Regions from separate parts of the Homo sapiens genome. Here region 1 is linked to region 2. The links are contacts of gene promoters, found by promoter capture Hi-C in blood cells and fetal thymus (Javierre and others, 2016). All regions are on one chromosome and are shown on one strand. Each heading gives the region's core, a stretch centred on a gene start or on the middle of the fragment in contact. The rest is flanking DNA. Distances are from core to core; before and after follow the strand shown.

Region 1 (2,700 bases), core at 27-2,526, 240 kb after region 2:
AACCCTATCTGTGGATCTCAATAACATCTTAAAATCCCGTCCTTCGCTTCATCCTCAGTGCCACCACCATCTGAGCCAAGCTACTGCCACTTTTTCTCTGGGCCACTGCAATGACCTCCTGCCTGTTCTCACAGCCTTTGCTCTGGCCACGTGGCACTTAGCTCTCCATCCAGCAGCAAGGGTGACCTTGGAAAGGAATTACATTAATAGCAGGAATGGGTCTGAATGCTATCTTAGCCCAGGGTGTTCTGTTATTCTCATCCACATACAGAAATGAGGGATCTCTTCCATCTAAAGCATCACTAGCCCATTTGGGTATGTCCTTGTTACTATTTTCTCTCTGGGAAGGGAATGTACATAGGTCATCAGCAATTTAATTGAGAGGATAGTTTGGATGGACTGAACAAAAAGGGGTGTTGCCTCTGCTGGGTTAGTGACAGCAAAGTGCAGGCAATTGGGAAGATGGCCCCTCAGCCCAGGCCACTGACAAGCCACATGCTTTCCCCCAGATATGGGCAGTCTGTGGCTGGGTTAGGGAAGCCTGGCTGGGTCCCCACAGACTCCCTGATGTTTTTGGGGGCAGAGGGTGAGCAGTCTCTCCACACAGGCTCTTCTTTGCTCTTGATGTGGTTCCCACAGGTCAAGAAGGCCCTCTGGCCTCTGTTCTTCTCCTCTTAGTCCACTCCCCTCCTCCTGCATTTACTCCAGCTGATCACTGTCTACTCACCTTTGAATGAACTTTGTTGCCCTGCTCTTTTCAGGGCTCTGCCTTTTGAGTCACTAAAAGCTCTGCTCTTAAAAATCAGAGCTTTGGTTATTTCTATGATCTCTGAAGTGGAAGTCGATGGTGGAACATTGACCCTGGCTCTGTCTTTGCTTTCCAAGAAAGCACCGTCTTAATTCACCCCAGCAAGAGATGCTCTGACTTACGAGTGCAAAAGAAGAAAAGCCCAGTCATGTGTGAATAGCTTTAAAACATCTCAGTGTGCACCAGCATCACTGCACCTCTCCCACTTGAAATGGCCCATGGCTTTCTATTGCGCTTAAGATAAAAATATTCAATATAGCCCCGAAGAGCTCAAATGGTCTGGTTTTTTCTTTTCTGTCCACCTGGATATTTGCACTGCAGCCACTGCAGCCTGCTTTCTGTACCTCAAATAAGCCATGCTCTCTCCTCATGGAATCTCCTCTCCCTTTTCTCCACCCTTAACTCCTTCTCTTCCTTCCTCTGGTAGACACCTCTCGACCTACCCAGCTTCTGTGGTTCCTGCAGGATGAACCCCCATATCCTGCCTCCCTTTATCTCAGGTGTTTCTTTCACTTCTTGGGTTAGTTGGTTACTATCTCTCTCTCTCCCTGATTCTGTAAGCTGCTGGAGGACTGACATGTAGTTCTCTTTTTCACCACTGGTCTTTAGCGAATGAATGAATGGAATAGATGGGTGAATGGATGGTAGTTCCTCATTGAAGACAATCTTGCAATATTGAAGTTTGCAATATTCTGGTGGTTTGATGCCAGGCTGTCTTTGAGGCTTTGCTGCAAATAGGGAAAAGATGTTCATCTGCCAAGGGGAGTTTAACTGGCTGGTGATATGAGAATCCATTGGGTCCTAATCCAATTTTATTCATCAACATGATCGATGGGTGGATAGAGCCTTCTGAATGGCTGGAATACATAGCTGCCTCTGGGATAATTTGAGGTGGGAGAATTAAGTCTTCCTAAGTCACCTGCTCCTCCCCTCTGGAAATGTTACCCCTCATGTGGGCTGCTCTTCAAGAATCTTCCACTAAATTCAAATAATTCTAGGAGGGCTCAGTCCTCATGAGCTACATTTTAGGCAGCTGAATGGACAGCTGAGCCCTGGAGATCAGGGGAGTGGGATGGGGAAGCAAGAGACAGGCAGGAGGAAAGAGAAATGGAGAGGTGGTCAGGAGGCAGGCACTGCGGATGAGACCCTGGCAGGGGAGTCAGGCATCAAACGTCGTCACCTTCCCAGATTTGCCACACTCTGGTCCTTTTACTTTCATGCCTCATGATTTGACAAAAATGTCATTTCTCCATTTTGACTTTTTTTCCACTTCAAGGAAGAAAGATACAAAAACAAACAGGAGAAATTTCTTCAGAGGTAAATGGAAGCATCTGGACATGGACATAGGATGTTTGGCATGTGAGTGTCTCCTCTGGAAAACTTCATTTAGTCCTCCATTTATTCCTTCAAGAAATGCTATTGAGTGTCTACCACGTACCAGGTACTGCGTAGGCTCCGGAAATAGAGAGTGAACAAAATAGACAGCTTTATGCCATAGAATTCTGGGAATTTCCCATGAAGGCTTCGAGAGAAAAAAGCATGCATTCTCCTGTGTCTGCCCAGACTCCCATGGCTTGGAACTGCCCGATGTGATGGGACGTGGGACTTGGGGAAAGTTGAGGAATATATTGTATTGTTGGGAGGCATAGCAAGCATATGAGCAAAAAGGAAACCCTTCTTCTTTCCCATCATGTTTGGGTTTTGGTGACAGGGCATGGGAAGATGAGGGGAAAGAGGGATGTGAGTTAGGTGCTGGATTCCAGGAAATGTCTTCACTGAAGTTTGAATATTCTGATATCCTGATGCCAGCCTGAGGCTTTGAAGTTTTCCTGCAAATAGGGAAAAGATGTTGGTCTGCAAAGGAGAGTCTAACTGGCTGGCGATATTAAAAT
Region 2 (2,700 bases), core at 145-2,644:
TATAGTATGCAGAATGGGAAACCACCCTTTTTTAAAACAAATATATCCTCACGTGTCAACTTCACAGTCAGGCTTCCTTTCTTGGGGAGAGCCCTTTCTCCATTCAGATCAAAGGTTAGCCTGTGAATTCTCCCCCAGAGAAATGTGGGAGCCCAGAGGTGGCTGAATATGACCAGCTAGAAGCAATGTCTTCTTAACTGGGCCACCAAGGAGCTTCAAGACCAGTGCACATTTTCTAGTTCAGTGGTTTTCAAATGCCAAGTTTTGATGCATTATTAGCTTGTGAAATAAATGTAGTGGCCTCTAACTAGCGTTTTGTAAAACAAAGTAAAATAGAGGAAACATTTTTAAACCAGATTTTTCCAAATGGAAGGGGAAGTTTTGTTTTTGTGAAACTTTGGTTTTGGGTATGGTTGTGTGTGGGTGTGTGCACTGTGATATTGTGTACAATGGTGATTTTTACAGTGGATCACTGACAGAGAATTTGGATAAACACCGTTGTAGTGCATCCAGGAGAGATTTGCAATCATAGGGAGAGGTCGTTTTAGACAATTACTCCTGCAAGTCATACATTTGAAGTTAAAACAACAGCCACAATGACAATAACAAAAACAGTAAACCTGGTAGGCAGGCAGGTGAGGGGTAGGGGAGGGGGTCAGGAAACATGAAAATGAAGAATCCTGGACTGGACTGGCTGCACTACTTGCGATTAAACTGCTAGACGTGTTCCTGCAGCTGGGAGGCAGCAGCCCTTCCCAGGAGCACCACATTGCCTGAGCAGAAGGTCCAAGTTATAATCTGGTGGGCAACCTTATGTTTAAAAACAGACACACAGACCTGCCAGCCTCACCTGGTATTGGCGAGAGAATCCTAAGGTGTTCGTTGCTAGTCTTGCTTGGGGGAGGTGAACACAAAACAACAGTGCATTAGAAAGAGCCTCGCCTTTGGAGTCAGACAGACCTGGGTCTCACTGTTAGCTCTGCCATTTATTAGCCCTTGGGCAAAACGTTTCATATTTCTCTTAGCCTCAGTTTCCACATCTGTCAATTGGGCATAAAAAGATATACTTCATAAGGTGGCTCTGAGGGTTAAGTAGAGTAGCCTATCTCGGACAGCCTAATAAGTATTCGTTCCCTCCACTTACCTTGTGTACCGTAGCTCCCCCTGCCACTGGGAAACAGACCACCTCGTAGGGAGGACGCTTTTCTTTTCCTTTGCCGTCATCGCTCATAGCGGTGCAAGCGCGTGGACAAGCAGTGGGAAGGGGATGGTCCAGGAGCCACACTCAGGACTCTAAAGAGGTACCTCAGGCAGTGATCCCCTGCCTGGAGTTGGACCCCCCTACAAAGAGCCAGGTTGTGGCAGTGACCTCCCCGTGATTCCGAGGGCTGCCACATCACCACCAAAGTCCAGCTCTCCTGCTTCGGCACAAGGCTGTGACTTGTCATTGATGTTTTGGGTCACGGACCTTTTCCACTCACGGAATTCCACTTCTGTTCTCCAAGCAGCTCTCTGTCTAACCAGTAACTGCGACTCTCCTCCAGGTGGAAGATCTCACCGCCAGCCATGATGCTGCTCTCCTAGAGATGGAAAATAACCACACAGTTGCCATCACAATCCTGCAGGATGACCACGACCACAAAGTCCAAGGTAGCTCCCAGCCTCGTGTGCAGCAGGCAGGGGTGGGTGGTGCAATCCGAGCCTTTCCTGCTGCAGATGTGTGGAGCCCCCCTTCCTCTCTTGTCCCTCCTTTCCTGTCTTTCCCTCCTGGTGCATTTTTTCCTGTTGGCTCCTGGGAAAAGAAGAGATAGGAATTAAGGATCCAGGTAGTTAGCTGCTTCTTTCCTCCAATGCAGTTATCCTCAACCTTGATGAATACTGGAATTCCCCGTCCCCTGGGGAGCGGTAACAAAAGACCAATGCCAGCCTCAGTCCCACCCCAGGGATTCTGATGTCCTTGGTCCATAGTGCAGTGTAAACATCAAGATTTCTTAAGACTCCTTAGGGGATTCTAATGTGTAGCCACACTTGAGGGCCACTGTCTAAAGCAGGCATGGAAATCGTGCACTTTTTTTTTTCCTCTTTTTTTTTTTTTTTTTTTTTGAGACAGAGTCTCACTTTGTTGCCCAGGCTGGAGTGCAGTGGTGCGATCTCAGCTCACTGAAACTTCTGCCTCCTGGGTTCAAGCGATTCTCCAGCCCCAGCTGGAGCCTCCAGCCCGAGTAGCTGGGATTACAGGTGCCCACTACCACACCCGGCTAGGCTTTATGATGTTTATTGCCTTATAAAAACAAATGGAAGCCCCGGCATGGATACACTTTCTTCATATTTATGATGTTCTCCGGGCCACTGCAGCATCTGGTTGGATCGGGGTATCCAGAGCTTACACTCATAGACCACATTCACCGTGGGTGTGCGTTAAGTCTCCAGATCTTTCTTTCTACATTTTTGTAACTTTGAATTATCTTTGGGTTTTACGTGGGTCATAACAGCATCATTACTAAGTTCCAGTGAGATTTTCCTTTGTGAAAGAGGCAGCATTTTACACTTTCACATGCATTTACATTAATATGTACAGTTTATTTTTCAACTTTCTCTCGCTTTACTTTTCCCTCCCAGTCAGCTGGTTGTTAAAGTGTGTATTAAAGGCCGGGAGCCGTGGCTCACACCCGTAATCCCAGCACTTTGGGAGGCTGAGGC

What was found. The method cuts DNA at HindIII sites, captures the fragments that hold promoters and counts their contacts. A CHiCAGO score of 5 or more calls a contact.
Region 1: a contact is called between a fragment that was not itself captured here and the fragment with the promoter of MTUS2-AS1 in region 2, in 3 of 17 cell types (M1 macrophages, endothelial precursors and M0 macrophages). The highest score is 5.5, in M1 macrophages.

Annotation. Positions count from the first base shown.
Region 1 is chr13:29,729,011-29,731,710 of GRCh38, forward strand. No RefSeq gene overlaps it. Among named protein-coding and RNA genes, the nearest start is that of UBL3, 120 kb to the right of the region's middle. The HindIII fragment of the contact is 6,285 bases long and covers 1-2,700 here.
Region 2 is chr13:29,486,356-29,489,055 of GRCh38, forward strand. MTUS2-AS1 (MTUS2 antisense RNA 1) reads right to left here and starts at 1,395. Exons shown (of 3, transcript NR_046378.1): 1 at 1,145-1,395. It overlaps MTUS2 (microtubule associated scaffold protein 2), which reads left to right. Exons shown (of 16, transcript NM_001033602.4): 11 at 1,545-1,650. The HindIII fragment of the contact is 24,751 bases long and covers 1-2,700 here.